4 separate regions of the Homo sapiens genome follow, and regions 2, 3 and 4 are each linked to region 1. Evidence: promoter capture Hi-C in human tissues and cell types (Jung and others, 2019). All regions are on one chromosome and are shown on one strand. Each heading gives the region's core, a stretch centred on a gene start or on the middle of the fragment in contact. The rest is flanking DNA. Distances are from core to core; before and after follow the strand shown. Region 1 holds the start of SESN3 (sestrin 3). Region 2 overlaps LOC105369439 (a long non-coding RNA gene). Region 3 holds the start of SRSF8 (serine and arginine rich splicing factor 8). Region 4 has its middle 140 kb from the start of SESN3.

Region 1 (4,408 bases), core at 1-2,500:
TAGGCGATGCAAGTTATCTCTGGGGCCCGGAGGACACGAGTGAGGACCGGGCACCAATCAGGTTCTCGCTCTGCGCCGGCCTTTGTTCTCACTCGGGAGCAGGTTGCGGGCGTCTAGCATCGGGAACCCGCATTCGACTCGGACGCGCATTGCTAGCCCCTTCGGGAGACCTGGCTCCCCTACCCGTCTGTCCCGCCACACTCGGTCAGCCTGCGCTTTCCCCAGTCAAGTCTGCCTTCTCTCCGCAGAACGTGGACGCTAAAACCCTGACTTACCATTTTAAGCTTTAGAAGAGGTAGGTTTGTCCCAATAGTTTTAAACGACAATTTGTTCTCTGAACCTTCCTTTCTGAGCAGGGCGCTGTGCTCTGCATGTATCCGAACAGCTGCCTCAGGAAGGTCTTTTGGGTGAGAAAACAAGCCCCTTTGGCCTTTTAGTGCTGGACAAGTAAATGAACTTACATCTCTAAGATAACTGCTAGAAGGTGCTTCACAAACAAGAGGAAACCGCTAAACCAGAGGTTTTGTGTCTCTCCCCTCAAACTCGATTACTTGCGTAAATATATATATAACTCAGACATTTATCCCCTATCCGCCTCCCAAGCCTCAAGTAACTGAAATCTTTGCAAAACAAGGTTCACAATAAATGATGCGTAAAGTTCTTTGAGATCCCTGGATACAAAGTACTACATAACTGCAGTCTTCTTTACAGCTAAAGTTAGATTTTGGTGGAGAGAAAGCCTAACCACTGCCCTGAAGGAAGGAACATTTAATCCTCCCACTCCCCTCCCCCTTTCTCGAGAGATCAGGAAATATTTAGCTCAATCTTAGACTCTCTAGCGAGCTCTAGCTCCCAACTATTTATCTCATTCTCCTCACCACTTCTGCAGGGACCTAGAGAAGGGGGCGTAGCTTATCTTGGGGGTGGGGCTTGGAGGGCAGTATATTTGCATATGACACACCCTCGTCCTCTTATTGGCAGAGGAGAGCAAACTGTTCCCTGCTACCCTACTACTTAGCTAACCGCCACCTCCCTTCAGTTCCGAGCCTCGGAGATAAACTTAACTTGCCCGGAGATTCAAGGCTTCCTCGGCCCCTGCGATTGGCCGGCGCGACTCCCAGTCGGGCTCTCGTTGCTCATTGGCTGCGGGCTAGCGCCCTGGGGGCGTAGCCGGAGCTGTCCGATTGGCGGGAGGGGCGGTACCGGAGCGTGGAGGTGGTGAAGGTGGTGGGGCGGCGGAGGCGGGGCCGCACTGAGGCGCTGCGGCGGCGGTGGTGGCGGTGGCAGCGGTGGCGGCTGCTCGTCCTAGCCTGGCGGGGGCGGGGGTCTGGAAGATGGGGGCGGGTGGAACAACGGGCCGGTGAGGAGCAGCCGCCGCCGTCTCCGCCGTCGCTGGGGCAGCTGCCGCGGTGGTCGCCTCTGGCAGTGCCGCTAGCTTTCAGGCAGTCGCCTCTCCTCCCGACATCCCGCCTTGAGGAGGCTGAGGCGGAATCGCGGCTGGCGGCGGGGGGACGGACCGGCCCTGCAGTGGCCGCAGTGACAGCCCGGACCCGGCCCTCCGCCCGCTCTCGCCTCGGCGCCCGCAGCCACGATGAACCGGGGCGGCGGCAGCCCGTCGGCCGCCGCCAACTACCTGCTCTGTACCAACTGCCGGAAAGTGCTGCGGAAGGTACGGGTTCGGCCCGGGGTCCTGCCGGCGAGGGTCGCTTCCTGCCGGCCGGGGCTCGGGCGGCTCGTCCCCGGGCGCGCACTGGGGGAGGCTGAGAGGGATCCCCGGGCACCGTCCCTCCGCAGGGACTGAGAAAGGGGGCGTGGGTTGAGGGCAGGAGGGTTTGGACTACTGCGGCTTTTTATTTCCGCCGGGACAGACCCAAGTCTGGAGGGGTTGGGATATTTTTTCTTCCCTTGTTCCTTTTATTTGGTGCCTTTGCTCTCCTTTACGGCTCATTTCCCTACCTTGCTACCCCGGGTCGGCTCCTTGGGCGGAGGGCGGGAGGGATCCGTTCGATCCTCCTCCCTGTGCAGTTTAGCTGTTGATGGAGGTCGGTGTGAAATCAGAGCAGCTGGGTCGGATCCCGAGGAACCTGGCCCCTCTTTGCTGTGGCTAACTCTTGCGAGTGTTGTTTTTGTTTATTCGGTTGCTTCTGCCTTGCGCGCCTTGCTCAACAACCCCCGTTTTCAAATTGTTTGGATGGTAGTCCTGTGTCTGTAGTTCAGTCTCGAAAGGAACCAGTAAAGCATCTTGAACTTTATGCCCATGGGAAATGCAATTCGACCTGGCCAGTTCCTGAGGCTGGGGTTGGGGGAGGAGAAGACTGAGGTGGATGTGGGTTATTCCTCCTTAGCACCCCCCTGCCCCCGTGTTGATCCAGAAAAATGAGGCGCACCATCAGTTTATTGCTGCTTCCTAGAGTGACTGATAGAAAGTTTACTCCAGTATTGTTTAGCTTACTTGGCTTAATCGCCCCGCGGGGAAGGGCGAGAGGGATGGGGAAGGGAATGAAAAAAAGGTCTCTAGACTTTTTGATCAGATTTTAACAGCTGCCCCAAAGTAATATTATAATCAGTTTATTCGTATTCAAACTCTATTTTTACATTTTATTAAGTGGAAACGTTAGGTGAGATGCTTCTGTTTGTTCACTACAAATGAATTAAAATTGCTGAGCTGTGCAAATGCATCGGGACTGAAAGCGGAGATGAATATGGTACCGTTTTTAGTCAACATCTCTAAATACGGTTCACTTTGGGATTGTTCTTTCTACATTTTTTTTTAAAAAAGGAAGAAAGAAAAAAGCACATAAGTAAGCAAGCTCAAATATTTGCGCTCTTTGTCCAAAAACTGTTTTTCTTCCTCTGTGGGTCAGGCCAAGTGCCAATCAAAGTTGTTTTTCAAGCCTCTTTTCCCTGCAGTAGGGCTGCTGCTTTTTTTTTTCTTCCTATTTTATTTGAGAGCGTGAGAGCAAAGGGATTGCAGATTTGAGGTTAATTGAACAGTTAAATATGCCTTAAATTGTGTTTATTGGATATGTTTCTCTTGAAACAGATTTTTATTAAATGTGCATGTTGAGTATGTGCAGTTATTTTTTTCCATAAACTCTAGGATCAAATTACAGTTGATACTTGCTCAGCTCATTGTAGGGTAGCTTGTGAGAAATGTAATGGATCAGAAGTGCAGATCAGCTTAGTTGGATGTTAACTCTTTCACTGCAGGGCCAGATGTCATCTGAACTTAGCTTTCAAAAAAATTTATTTCTTAATTTTTAAATTTATGTTATGTCTTTGACATGAAAAAATGTGTCATTTAAGACATGTTTGATTAAAGTGCAGCCTGGTTAAAATGACAGCAAGTTATGCTTTTTAATTGAATAAGGAAAAAGAGCACTGTATTGACTTTGATAAAAAAATTTTTTAATGGCTCTGGCAATTTGTTAGGCTAATAAAATGTTTGGAGGTAATATTAGGCTTCAAAATGTATTTCATTTTTCTTTTGAGAGAGCTATGGCTATGGATCCATGACACTTTGCTAGCATTTAAGATATTACATCTTTCCTTTAGCTTTTAGGAAACTATTTCTGTTTACCTAGAAAGAACATCCTCATTTCTAGCCATTATTAAAAGAAACGTGGAAAAAGAGTATTCACATTTTCGTATTTTATAATTGCTGAGCACATCTCTGCCAGTATTCCAGTTTTTAGTAACTCCAAGGTATTTAATATTGATTCATGCAGTGGCATGAAATAACTTAATGGAAATAGGATTCTTTGAGCCAGTTATAACATGACTTGGCAACATTTGCAGCTTTTTAAAGAGTGCCACTTTGAAGTGCTCTTAAGAGAATCAGTATGTAGCATTTTAAATGTTTCATCATTCTTAAAATAACAATGAAAAGTTTATTTCTAATAAAGACATGTTTTTCTTGTTGATATAACTCTAAGTTAAAAGTCATCTATAACTCTCAAAATGTGATTCTTAGAGTTTATCTTGTTTTCCATTTAATAAAGTGTTCAGTAATGTAGCCAAGTGAGTCATAGTATTTTGAATGTTTGTTCAGTCTAATTCATAATGGAAGAATGAAACTCATGCTCATCCAGTGTGAATTACTTTTGCTTTTATATTTCTATATAATGATGGAAGAAGGGTCACCTTTATATGGGACAGAAAGTGTTATTCTCTCAGTAGGTGGCTTAATTTGTTGCAGTGTGTTGAATTTTAGGGGAACTTCACAAGGAATGGAATTCACCTTCAAATGAAATAATATGGTTTAACCCAATGCCTGAATATTGAATTATATATTGTATGAGAATTACATTTATTCTTAGAAGTCCGTTTACGGTTTTGATTTAGTATCCTCCAAAATAAAGAGACTTATTAAAATATTGAATGTACCTAATTTGGTAACCTTAGGACA
Region 2 (4,408 bases), core at 627-3,126, 250 kb before region 1:
TACACAGACATGGCAACTATCCGATTTCTCAGTCTTTTCCCCACCTTTCCCCCCCTCTCTATTCCACAAAACCGCCATTGTCATCCTGGCCTGTTCTCAATGAGCTGTTGGGTACACCTCCCAGACGGGGTGGCGGCCGGGCAGAGGGGCTCCTCACTTCCCAGTAGGGGCGGCCGGGCAGAGGCGCCCCTCACCTCCCGGACGGGGCGGCTGGCCGGGCGGGGGGCTGACCCCCTCACCTCCCTCCCGGATGGGGCAGCTGGCCGGGTGGGGGGCTGACCCCCCCACCTCCCTCCCGGACGGGGCAGCTGGCCTGGCGGGGGCTGACCCCCATCTCCCTCCCGGACGGGGTGGCTACCGGGCAGAGACGCTCCTCACTTCCCTGATGGGGTGGCTGCCGGGCGGAGGGGCTCCTCACTTCTCAGACAGGGCGGTTGCCAGGCGGAGGGTCTCCTCACTTCTCAGACGGGGCGGCTGGGCAGAGATGCTCCTCACCTCCCAGACAGGGTCGCGGCTGGGCAGAGGCGCTCCTCACATCCCAGACGGGGCGGGGGGGCAGAGGCGCTCCCCACATCTCAGACGATGGGCGGCCAGGCAAAGACGCTCCTCACTTCCTAGATGGGATGGTGGCCGGGAAGAGGCGCTCCTCACTTCCTAGATGGGATGGCGGCCGGGCAGAAACGCTCCTCACTTTCCAGACTGGGCAGCCAGGCAGAGGGGCTCCTCACGTCCCAGACGATGGGCGGCCAGGCAGAGACGCTCCTCACTTCCCAGACGGGGTGGCGGCAGGGCAGAGGCTGCAATCTCGGCACTTTGAGAGGCCAAGGCAGGCGGCTGGGATGTGGAGGTTGTAGCGAGCCGAGATCATGCCACTGCACTCCAGCCTGGGCACCATTGAGCACTGAGTGAACCAGACTCCGTCTGCAATCCCAGCACCTCGGGAGGCCGAGGCTGGCGGATCACTCGCGGTTAGGAGCTGGAGACCAGCCCGGCCAACACAGCGAAACCCCATCTCCACCAAAAAAGTACGAAAACCAGTCAGGCGTGGCGGTGCGCGGCTGCAATCGCAGGCACGCGGCGGGCTGAGGCAGGAGAATCAGGCAGGGAGGTTGCAGTGAGCCGAGATGGCAGCAGTACAGTCCAGCTTCGGCTAGGCATGAGAGGGAGACTGTGGAAAGAGAGGGAGAGGGAGACCGTGGGGAGAGGGAGACAAGAGGGAGAGGGGGAGGGGGAGGGGGAGGGAGAGGGAGAGGGAGAGGGAGAGGACAGCCACAGGATATGTTAATCACATTTTGCCACAACATTGCTAGCCACTAAATTCAAATGTTATAATATCCTATATGCATAATGCCACACAACTGGTTAGAACATGAAATAATGAAGACATTTAAACTAGTGTTTGCCCTTATGTGAGTGTTAAAAGGTTTAACCTGACTAAATTTTTTACAGAATTGATTTTTTAAAAAATAAATAGATTAAATCAACTGGCTGATTTAGCCTTTGAAATTCCAAGAACCCAAGCTCTTCTCAGTTTCTATGAAGCATGAGAAAGACTAAGATCTATGTCAGTGGCCGCCACTTATGAAAGAAACAGGATTTCTTAAAATTTTATTTTTTAAAAATCAAAATAATACAAGTACATGGTGTTTGAAGAAAATCAATGGAAGCTGGGAGAAAATGGGAAGATGTAGTTCAAAGGATATAAAGTAGCAGATATGCAGGATGAACAAGTTTAGAGATCTAATTTAAAGCATGAGGACTATAGTTAATAATATTGTATTGTATTCAGGATTTTTGCCAAATGAGTAGATTTTAGCTGTGTTTGCCATAAAAAATAGATAACTATGTGAGATGATGAATATGTTAATTTGCTTTACTACAGTAATCGTTTTACTATCTCATAACATTGTGTTGTATACCTCAAATATATACAGTAGAATTTATTTTTTAAAAGTTGGTTGGAGAAGATTATAATGAGAATTAGTATTCCCCCATCTTACTTTTTACAGTTAGAGCACATTTGGCTTTAAGTGTAAGACACACAGTTAAAACTGGCTTAAAATATTAAGAAATTTATTATTAAACATACCGAAGTCCACACGCAGGGCAGCCTCCAGGTATGTGTCTCAGGACTGTGACTCTAGTGTTCTGGAGCCCCTGAGTATGGAGCTTCCTCTTCTTCTAGTCACAAGATGGCTGCAACTGCCATCTGTTGAGAGCAGTGCGAGAAAGAGATGGTGTCCCCACTTATGGAACAGACACCCTTCCTTCAGCTTTATTAGGTTATCTTAGATCATGGCCCCCTCCCCACCATGACTAACAGTGGCCAATGAAATGTCAGGCATTGATTGACCAAATCAGTGATACTCTATCAAACTGAATGCCCCCCAACCTTTTGTTTTGAGATGGAGTCTCACTCTGTTGCCCAGACTAGAGTGCACTGGTGTAATCTTGGCTCATTGCAACCTCTGCCTCTGGCCAATGCTCCTTTTATAACAAGTTTTTCATAGTCTCCTCTGTCTTAGCCTGATAACATGTGATGGGCACCATAATCCATCTACACATTGCAATTTCAGGAAGAACTTACATTTACAAAGTTTCCCCAGACAAGCTCAGTTATGCCTAGACCTTTGGACAAAAGATGAATAAAATATGCTTCTTTCCAAACCCAGATCCACCATGAATAGATAAGCTTATGAACTGAATATCTTAACTATTTGTCTCAACTTTTACTTTGCTTTCTGTATTTTGAACAATACTGGGATGTCTGTGTTGTCATCCTTGTTCACTGTTGCTGCCTAAGCCTTAGGAGAAGGGATATCCTTTCTGAGGAATAATCTTGAGCTCCTAACCCTCTCTTCTTTTCTGTAAGACTTGTTAGTACTAACTGATTCTTACCCATTTAAATTCAGGCCATTGCGATGGTTCAAGAAATTGCTATTCAAGTGAGTGGAAGATCTCCAGGATCTCAGGCCCAAGAAAGGAAATACAATATAAAAAATGTAGAGAGAGGTCAACATTGTTTCCCATATAAAGTTACTTCTCAGAGGCGGTTCTTAGAGATTCCACAGCTTTGGATTTTCTAAAGTCAGCCTTTCCCTGGGCCATATTTCTCTATCTTGCTAAAACACACTTCTGTGTGTTAGGACAATTTCCATGAGATATACCACTTAATGCTCACTGGAACATTGTAGGATAGCTGTGACTATACTGTTTTATAGACAGAGAAGAGACTGAGTCCCAGAGAGTGTAGAAAACAGCGAGGGCCCTCGGCAAGTAAGTGCAGAGGTGCAATTTGAGCTGGGATCTGTATCTGTGTGGGTACAAAACCCAGCCTCTTCCTGCCACTTATTTTTTGTTTGTTCGTTTGTTTGTTTTTTGATACAGAGTCTTGCTCTGTCACCCAGGCTGGAGTGTAGTGGCATGATCTCAGCTCACTGCAACCTTCACCTCCCAGGTTCAAGCAATTCTCCTGCCTCAGCCTCCTGAGTAGCTAGGATTACAGGCGTCTGCCACCACGCCAGGCTAATTTTTGTATTTTTAGTAGAGATGCGGTTTTGCTGTTTGCCAGGCTAGTCTTGAACTCCTGACCTCAGGTGATCCACCTACCTCTGCCTCCCAAAGTGCTGGGATTACAGGCATGAGCCACTGTGCCTGGCCTAGTTTTTATTCTTACTTTAAACTGGAGAGTTCTTGAGTTCTCCTGCCCTCAGAAAAATATAGACTACTATAATCTCCAAGTCTCCAAGTCTCCAAACCTCCACCTTTATTGCTTACATTCCTTTTCCCACAGCCCTGACTCTGCCTGGACAATTTCAGCACTGGGAAATTCTCTGCTCTGGAGGCAGCCAGCTCACCTTCAGATGCAGTGATTGTTAGAAAGCTCTTTCAGATACTGTGCCAAAGTTTGCCTCCTTGGAGCTTGGCACACTGGTGCCAGTTCTCCTCTCTGAAGCCTCCTTAGAAAAGTCTGATTCCCATTTCACATAGAGGCTTACAAATATTTGAGCCAAAGTCTATTTGACTTTTTTCAGGTACAATGAATGTGTCTACTTCAGAGCAAGTAATCAACACTTAAGCTATTATCGTATTCCTTGGTGCTCAGGTCTCTCCACTTTCTTCCTTAACTTTACTAGCTTTGTCTCACATACTCCTTTGCAAATGGTTCCTATTTTCTAGCTTCCTGTGACCTACTTCATCCTTATCCTGGCCTCTGACTAATTATTTCTTGTATATGAAGGTATTATTTTTCTTCCCATTAGTGTTAAACTCTACAGTGGCTCTTGTCCATTTACACATTTCCATTTATCAACAGGAACATTTCATTGAATACACAAGAAGCAAGACCTGACAGTAGCAGAACAATATTCACAAAAACCAGTTTGATTCTCTCTTCCTGCCCTCAAGT
Region 3 (4,408 bases), core at 1,247-3,746, 160 kb after region 1:
TTTAACGTATAAAGAGTTGCTGATTTTAACATCATATTTTGGTCACGTTTAAGATGTTCTACAGATATTTTTGCTTCAAAGCTTCAAACTCCAGCTATGCCTGGGTCTCATTCTATCCCCAGAAATTGACAATGCTTCCCTACCCTTAGGGCTGCCCCGTCCCCGTCCCACTCGGTCCCATTTAATAAATATACCTCACCTCCCTTCGCCACCTGCTGGACGCGAGGGGCTACTACGATGCCATGGGTGTCCTGATTTTTTATTTCTCAGACAGGACTGCTCTGTGTGTGTCTTTGGATTCTACGTAGATTTATATTTGTAAAATATTACATTTGTCATGACCAGAAGAAATGTCATTATCGTAAAATTTAGATTCTGGAGTCTATATATGAAAGCAATACTAACTACTAACTGTTATAACAACAAAATGTGGGATGTATATCTACAGACCACAGCCACCTTGCCAGTTCATTCAAGAATCGAACCCTGGATTTAGCAGTTTCTGCACAAAGGGAATGAAATATTTTTAATTGATAATTCAGTCAAAAATATTAATGAAGATCCATATGATTGAAAGAATAAATTTATTCAATTGGCTCCAATGTAATCCTATTGTCACCAGATCATTGACACCAAATTGTTATTTTTCCCTTTGCTAGTAAAGGTATAAGCAGAAACAATTGCAAAAGAACACATAACATCTAGTAGGGATAATGATGAAAGCCAAAAATGGATTATTTGAAAATAATTTTGGAAGTAAAAAAACCATAGGTGTGAGGAAAAAAGAGAGAAACTACAAATAAACTGCATTGTGATAAAACAATAAAGCACATAGCTAAAAGCCTATTAAGGATTTTTTAAAAATTATATTTTGAGAAACACTTGGTGCTAATAATTTTCTCAAAAGTACAAATATCCAAAAGTCATACAGAAAATAAAACAACCTACTTTCCATCAAAAGTTTCTAATTTTATTCTGAGAAAAGATAACACCAAGAAAACAATTTTAACTACAGAAACAATGGTTAGCGTAAAAAATTAATAATCAAAAAGATAAACCATGTTATAAGTACTTAACAAACTTATAAACTATTTCTTCCATAACATTCTCCATATTTTAAGTTCATACATGTTGATATGATCAGATTTACAATTTTTCAGAAAAGACGGGGGAAAAGGTGTGATTATCGTCAGCTAGATGTGCTCACTGCATGCTCCATTATTTATCTGCAAGGCCTGGGTGACTGGAAGTGCAGTTGACAGGCATTTTAATAAACTGGACAGCCATTTGTTCTTCAGGACAAGGCGTGTTTTCCCCAGGAGCAATCAGAAGAAAACAGGAAGCAGCTCAGCACTCTGCACTGCAACAGGCCACCTTAATAGCTAACCAGCATCACTCAACTGCTACGCAGCCGGGCCTGGTGCACAAAAACACAAAAGAGATTAGACCTGTGTTTGCTAAAACCCCAGTCCTTTCACATGAAAAATCTTTATACAAATTTGGGTCACACTACCTTTTAGACCTGGAGGTAAATAAAATTATCCATATTAATTTACACCACCTTTTGTAGGTTTTTAAGGAATGAAGGCAATGTTGAAGCATGTCTTGACAGCGTTAGGCTGTGTGTAATGGCTGCACACGTTTCCTTAAAAGTCAGGAGGCCACAAATTAGGTTACCAATCTGTTCATTTCAAACCAAAACAGTCATCACTATAGAAATAAAAATAAATTTTTGCCTCAAATATCCAAACCCAATAACGTAATCTTAGGTCGTTCACCTCCTAAGTTACAATAAAATGTGAATAACAACAAAACGGCACATAGAATGAATTTTGCCACCTGATGCAAAGCTTCAAACTGGCAAAAAGGTAGAAAAGTGTGACACAACCTTTTCAATAGGCAGCCTCTTCTTCCAGGGACGTTGCTTCCATAGACTGAGTATGTGATCCTTTTCCCCCAAGTCCTCCATCACGTTGCTTCCTGATGCATCATTTTCTTAAGAGGACATCTGTCCTTCCTCTTCAGGAGACTTGGGGGGCCTCTTGGATCGCGACCTTGACTTGGATTTCCTCTTGGATACCCGGGGAGGACTCCTGGTCATAGATGAAGACCTGGACCGCGAGCGAGACCTGGAGACCGAGGAGGACTTGGATCGTCGCGCAGAGCTCGATTTGGAGGTTGATGCAGAGCGAGAGCTAGTGGAGGACCCAGACTTCGAGTGAGACCGGCTGCTGTGATATCGGCTGTAGCGAGAGTTACTGTAACCAGATGAGCTGTAGTGAGATCCGCCGTAGCGAGATTCCCTGTAGCGAGATCTGCTGTAGGGAGAGCGGCTGTAGCGCGACCGGCTGTAAGGAGATCGGCTGTAGGGAGACCGGCTATAGCGAGAACCCCTATAGCGAGATCGGCTGCGGGACCTGGAGCAGCTGGGACCCCGGGATCGGCTGCGGTGTCGCCGCCTGGGGCTGCGGCTCCGCCGCCCGTAGCTGCGGCTCCGCCGTCCGTAGCCGCCGCCTCTGGACCTGCCGCGTGGCTCTCCCTGGCGGCTGCGGGGCAGGTCCCGGCGGCCATAGCGCGCCACCTGCACCCGCAGCTCGCGTCCGTCCAGCTCCGCCCCGTCCATGGCGGCCTCGGCGTCTTGGGCGTCGCGCCGGTCGTGAAAGCGGACGAAAGCGAAGCCCCGGGGCGCCTTGGTGTGGGGCTCCCGCGGGATGTACACGTCGCCCACGCGCCCGTACTTCTCGAACACGCGCCTCAAGCTGTCGGGAGAGGTGCGGTAGGTCAGGTTGTCCACCTTGAGGGTGATCATGCCGTCCACGTCGGGAGGGGGGCGGCCGCAGCTCATGGCTCCGAGAGCAGCCCGGGCCCGGAAACTGGCGCTGCTCTGGGCGCTGACGGTGCGACCTGCGTTTCTTTCTCGCGGTTGCGCCCCGCGTGGGGACGCCGGGAAAGGCCGGGCGGAGAGGCGGGCGGCGGAGCTCCGCAGGGAGCGCCCTGGAGCAGCAACTTCCGAGTTCCCAATTTCAGGCCAAATACTCCAGGACCCAGAGGAAGGTTTCCTTTTGGTAGCTGAACTCCAAATGAAGCCAGGCCCCGAAGATCCTGGCCTTGTACCTGGGCAACATCCTAACCTAATCAGCGCCCAGCTAATGTAATCACTGGGCTGGATTTACATTAGACGTCCCACCCTCCCATGCTCCTCCCTATTATTCTACGTTTTAAACCAATCTTAAGAACAAAGCTAACTGATTAAAGGTCAATTTATGGGAACAGGCAATCCAGACAAATATTAAACAAAAGAAACCTAGGGCAACAATATTAATATCCAGTGTATTGATAGGATCAAAGGAGCACATTTCATAGTTATTGAAAAGAAAATTCACTAGGAAAACATTACAGTGATGAACTTAACGCACCTAAACACATAACAGTGACACATAGCCAAGACTGAGAGTTATAAGGTAAAACTGAAAAATCTGCACTCATGATGGAAGTTTGTTTTTTCCCCGTAACACCGTTTTCTCAGAAATCAATAGTGCAGAGAACAAAACTAGTAATGCTATAATAATTTGCACAACAAACAACAATTTTGATCATATAACCTGCAACAACCAAAAATATATAGAAAACAGAAGAATTTCCCAATACAAGACTACAAAATAAATGTCAATTAAAATTTAATAGGTCAATAAATTCAGCACATCTGGACCTCAGTGAAATAATATTGAAGGTTAAAAATAAAAAACCTGAATCCAATCATATTTACTTGAAAATTAATAACCACATTTCTAAAACTTTTTTTATGTTGAAGTCAAGCAATTAGTAAAACAAAACCAAAACAAAAAATAAAACATTAAAATAAAAATAGAATTACAAATAAAAGGGACAATATGTTTTTTTAAAAAGATGATTAATAAAACTGAAATCTAACACTTTTAAAGAAAAAAACAATCTAGCAATACTGATGAAGAAATACAGTTTCTAAATCTGGAAAGGAAATATACAGAAAGGGCCTAGAGCATCTTGGAGTGCTGGAAAATAAGGATGTGATAAATAGAAAACAAACAAAAGCATTGATGGGGTAATTTTAGAGGGGTACAAAAACCAATAAAACAGCTCCCAATGGCCAAATCTTGAACAATTTAAGGAACAAACTAAAATACTACTATATCATATTCCAAAATATAAAATAAATATTAATCTGTGCTGTTGTAAATAAATGATTAAATAAATTAACACATTGGAGAAAAGAGAGAAAACTCCTCTGCAGGAGAATTCTAAATTAATTAAATTAATTAAAACGTTGCTGATTTTGAAAATGTTATGTAACCTTATATACATAGAATTGTGCTTTTTATATTTTAATGTATTTTGTGTTTTATTTCCCTCATCTATGTGTTCCATGTAG
Region 4 (4,408 bases), core at 670-3,169, 140 kb before region 1:
CAGATATGATAGATATAAGGTTAATCTTCCTAATGTACAGAGCTCTTTTAATTTGTAAGAAAAGACAACTTCAACCCAGTCAAAAATAGGCAAAGGATAAGAGAATTCACAGCAGAAGAAATAAAAAAGTCCATGAAAAGATGAGCAACCTCACTTGTAATCAAGAAAGCATAAAGTAAGTTTAAAGACATCATTTTTGCCTATCACATGGGGGGGGAAATAAAAAGAAGAAAACCCAGAATTGGTAAACCTGGAGGAGATTTTCACTGTCCTATATTCTGGGAAGGCTTGAATTGCTACAACCTTTTGGAAAAATAAACTAGAAATGTCTACTAAATTGAAAAATATGCAAGCCCAATAATCCAATTCTGAAAATTCATCCTATAAAAATAAAATTGCCAGCACATAAATATTTATGTTAAGAATGCTTATTGCTATTTTTGTTTATTTTTGGATGTATATTGATAGAGAAATAGTTCAAATTATGGTATATCTTTAATAGGAAATATTATGCAGCTATTGAAAAACAAAATGATCAATATCTATTAACCCAGAGAGAATTCCACGATGTCTTGTTAAGAAAAGCAGGCTACGGAAAAATAAATATGGTTCTATTTTTATAAAAATAAGTAGCAATCATCCTCCTCCTCATATAGGTATATGCACATTTTCATAAACAAAAAAGTGTGGAAGGTGTAACCTTAGGGGGCGGAAAATGAAGGAGATGGCGGGGACAGAAATCATTAAATTCTATGATGTATTTTTGATTATTTTATTGGGTAGACTGTTTATGTAGTGCTTCTCTATTAAAAGTATTAATAAATAAGATAATGTTTTCAAAGAAAACGTGACCTCAGAAGCTAATGGGACCTGGGCTTGTGAGTCAAGTACTATTGTTCTTACAGAGGAGTTGAGAGGAAATGAATCTGATGGGAAAGAAGGGAAAGAAACAAACGGGCGACTTTCCACTCCTGTGCCACATGCTTCCATTTCTCCCTCTAGGAAACCCTTCTAGGGATGCTGCACTTGCTCTGCCGGTGGGCTGGCTTCACGGACTGCTGCCTCTCATTATCCAATTCCTTTCTTATAATTTTTAGGCTGGACACCGCCTACTTCGGTGGTCTAATTTAGGCCATGTGCATGCATTTGGGGGATGTGTCTGTTGCTAGTATATAACATTTTCACATTTAGATCTCTTTAATAATCTTCATTTGAATAGTAGTTCAGGCAAAGGAAAAAGAGACCATGTTTGCGTTGATGTCTTTCAGCCAAACTCTGCCACCCAGGAGCTAGCCAGTGTCTGGGGAAATTCGCCAGCCTGGACTCTGGCAATAAAACAGCCATTTATCCTAGGCCAGAAACAAACCTTTCCAGGCCTGAGGTAAATTTACATAGAAATAAAACTTAAATGAGGAAAATACTACTGGGGCGATGCTTTAAATTATTTACATTTGTTCATCTCCAACAGTAAAACAAAGCTTCAGGGATGCAGACCCAGAGACAGTATCTTCCCGCTGAAATACAGAAGAAACATTTTGATTTTACTACTATTCCCAAATATTCTAGAAACCTAGCCAGGCGTTAGAGACAATGGAAAACTATTCTTGCTTTTAAAGATATAGTTAAGTTAATTTGGCTGCTGTTAGATTGTAGAACTCTTGAGTTTTTAGAAAGGCAGGGGTGGGGACCAGGGAACGTGACCAGGAAGAAATTTCACTTGTCCCTTCTTGAGATCTAAGAAAGGAAGCACATCCTTCTTAATGCCCTGTTTCTTGGGCTGACCACCTATCTGTTCAGAAGGTTGTCTCTAGGGAGCCAACTGTTCCTGCTGTGATTTAAGTCTGTCTTCTCCATTCCAGCAATGGGAGTTAGGGAGAGTTAATTAACTGGTATGGTTTGGATCTGTGTCCCCACCAAATCTCATGTTGAAATGTAATCCCCAGTGTTGGAGGTGGGGCCTGGTGGAAAGTGTTTGGATCATGATGGCAGATCCCTTACTAATGGCTTAGGGCTATTCCCTTGGTGATGGGTGAGTTCGAGTGAGATCTGGTTGTTTAAAAGCGTAGCACCTCCCACTCTCTGTTTCTTGCTCCCACTTTCACCATATAATCCATTGGCTCCTCCTTTGCCTTTCATTATGATTGTAAGCTTCCTGAGACCTCCTCAGAAGCCAAGCAGATGCCTGGTGCCATGCTCCCTGTACAGTCTGCAGAATCATGAGTCAATTAAACCTCTTTTCTTTATAAATTACCTAGCCTAAGGTATTTATTTATAGCAAGAATGGCCTAATACACTGGCCTTATTATTTTTTCCTCACCTGAAACTTGAGCTGAGTAAGGAATCCTTGACTGCCAATGAATCTATAGAACTCTGTTCACAGAGAAGTACATTTGAGAATCAAGAAAAAATCATTTTTAAAATGCAGGGGACCCAAATTGTTGAGACTTGCCCAGAGACAGCAGATAATCAATGGCAAAATCAGACCCCAAACTGCTGGCATCCTGAGTTAGTTGCTTCTTCTTGCTGCTTAAAATCGTTACCTGACTTTGCTAGGTGACTGGGGATGAGCATTCTGAGCAGAAAGAACATTGTATACCTAGAAAAAGGTCTGAAACAGCATAAATGTTTGGAGAGTTTTAGAAATTTAATACAAGCAAGACAGAGGCATAAGGACTGTGATGGAGCCATTGGAGAGCAGGCTAGAAATCAGCCTTGTAAGCAGGATACAAAGTTTGGACTTGGTATTTGTTGTGACTCTTTCAATTACAAGCTAAAGAAACCCAAGACCAAACTCAGCTAAGTAATGGTAATAATAATAATGGTTAACACTTAGCAATGTTCTAAGCTTTCTGTATGCATTAACTCATTTGGAACTCATTACAATCCTGTGAGGGTGTTATTATTATGCCCATTTTAGAGATGAGGATATTGGTATTCAGAAAGGTTAAATAATTTATCCAAAGTTACATAGCCATTAAGTGCCAGCACTGGATTCTAACATGGAAAATATATTGACCCCTGTGACTGGTAAAGTCCACGAGTAAGGCCCACTTCATGGGCAACTAAATCATCCAGGAGCTCAAACAATTTCCTAAGGCTCTGTCTTGACTGGGTCAGCTTCTTTTCATGCACTGCCTTCACATTTGGAGAGATTCTCCCAATGTGGAGAAAAAGAAACAATTCGTATTTCAGAGCAAGAGTGAGACCCTTTCCTTCCCCATACTTATACATGACAGTTCTTCTTGGCCTCTTCTTGCCCATTCTGAAACTCATCACTATGGCCAGGTGCATGGAGGACATAAGAAGGCGGTTGGAGCTGGACCAACCACATGAATTGGGCTCTCACGAAAAGACCCATTATCAGAAGAGGTGGGGTGTCGCCAGTTAGATGCCCCACCGGAGGATATAAAGAGGGGAGGGCACAATCGAGTTTGCACTTTAGAAAAAAATGGTGTCGCAGATGGATTAGAGGCATGTAGAACTGGAGACAGGGAAGCCAGCTAGAAAGCCGACCAGGTTTTCCAGGTGGGAAATGAATCCAAGGCTGTGGTGATGGCAAGAAGGGAACAGAGTCAAGAGGTATGTAGGAGATACACTTGGATTTAGGCCTGGAGGAAGAAGAAGGAATTAACGGCAACTCCGAGGCTGTGGTATTAACTGAAATTGAGAAAACAGGAAGTTGAGTAAGTATTCAAGGGAGAGGAAAGACAGTATTTAAGTTCATTTGGGGATGTCTTTGCATTTGGACTGTCTTTCCTGCTAGAGAGTAACTTCTGTGAGCCAGAGACCCCATCTGCCCTGTTCACTACAATATCTGCAATAACCATGTAGCACCTGGCACATATTAGGCACTTCCCTATTAAATGCACAAAGAAAGGTGTCTACCTGATATCCAAGTGCATGCACCAGTCAGGTTGTTGGAAAGTCAGAAGAGATGCCCAGCCCCACAGTGTGAATTTGGGGGTCACAGGGATATGGGCAATAGAGAAAAATGGGGGCATTAAAGAGATGGTTCAGAGTGAGTGTGGAAGGAGAGACTGGGCATAGAATGCCTGCATGTAAGGGGCTAGCAGACGAAGATGAGCCTGGGATCTGTTGGAAAGTGAATGATGAGAGAAGGAGTAAAAGAAGCCTAGGGTGGTAACAGGGAAACTTGGTGTGGAAAGGGAGAGCTGACAGTCAGAACAATGTCCACTCTTCTACTTGCTAGCTGTGTGAACTTGAGCAAGTTATTTCACTTCTGTGTGCCTCAGTTTCCCTCTTTTAAAATGACAAAAATAATACTGCCTATCTTAGGTATAGTTGTGAAACATTTTAAAAATAAGTTATTTTTTAACTTGTAAAGACACAGTACTTGTCTCAATATTTACCTAAGGAGTGAGTCATGCGTCATACTGAATACCACAGA

What was found. Contacts are between HindIII fragments. The study calls those that stand out against the background at their distance.
Region 2: a fragment that was not itself captured here is called in contact with the fragment with the promoter of SESN3 in region 1 in 1 of the 25 tissues and cell types used here (hippocampus).
Region 3: a fragment that was not itself captured here is called in contact with the fragment with the promoter of SESN3 in region 1 in 1 of the 25 tissues and cell types used here (hippocampus).
Region 4: a contact is called between a fragment that was not itself captured here and the fragment with the promoter of SESN3 in region 1, in 1 of the 25 tissues and cell types used here (thymus).

The regions. Positions count from the first base shown.
Region 1 is chr11:95,228,044-95,232,451 of GRCh38, reverse strand. It overlaps SESN3 (sestrin 3), which reads left to right and starts at 1,250. Exons shown (of 10, transcript NM_144665.4): 1 at 1,250-1,669. The coding sequence starts at 1,592. LOC100129203 (a long non-coding RNA gene) reads right to left here and starts at 2,266. Exons shown (of 6, transcript NR_110295.2): 1 at 1,957-2,266; 2 at 879-1,327; 3 at 276-400. RefSeq lists enhancers at 1-231, 232-871 and silencers at 1,227-1,376, 1,387-1,696. The HindIII fragment of the contact is 13,238 bases long and covers 1-3,854 here.
Region 2 is chr11:95,478,611-95,483,018 of GRCh38, reverse strand. It overlaps LOC105369439 (a long non-coding RNA gene), which reads right to left. Exons shown (of 4, transcript XR_947928.3): 4 at 1,886-2,209. Among named protein-coding and RNA genes, the nearest start is that of SESN3, 250 kb to the right of the region's middle. RefSeq lists an enhancer at 165-715. The HindIII fragment of the contact is 7,251 bases long and covers 1-4,408 here.
Region 3 is chr11:95,065,664-95,070,071 of GRCh38, reverse strand. SRSF8 (serine and arginine rich splicing factor 8) reads right to left here and starts at 3,153. Exons shown (of 1, transcript NM_032102.4): 1 at 1-3,153. The coding sequence starts at 2,845. The coding sequence ends at 1,997. RefSeq lists silencers at 179-238, 3,098-3,177 and enhancers at 1,411-1,470, 1,481-1,660, 1,968-2,077, 2,658-2,847, 2,572-3,329. The HindIII fragment of the contact is 3,060 bases long and covers 967-4,026 here.
Region 4 is chr11:95,364,829-95,369,236 of GRCh38, reverse strand. No RefSeq gene overlaps it. Among named protein-coding and RNA genes, the nearest start is that of SESN3, 140 kb to the right of the region's middle. The HindIII fragment of the contact is 4,861 bases long and covers 1-4,349 here.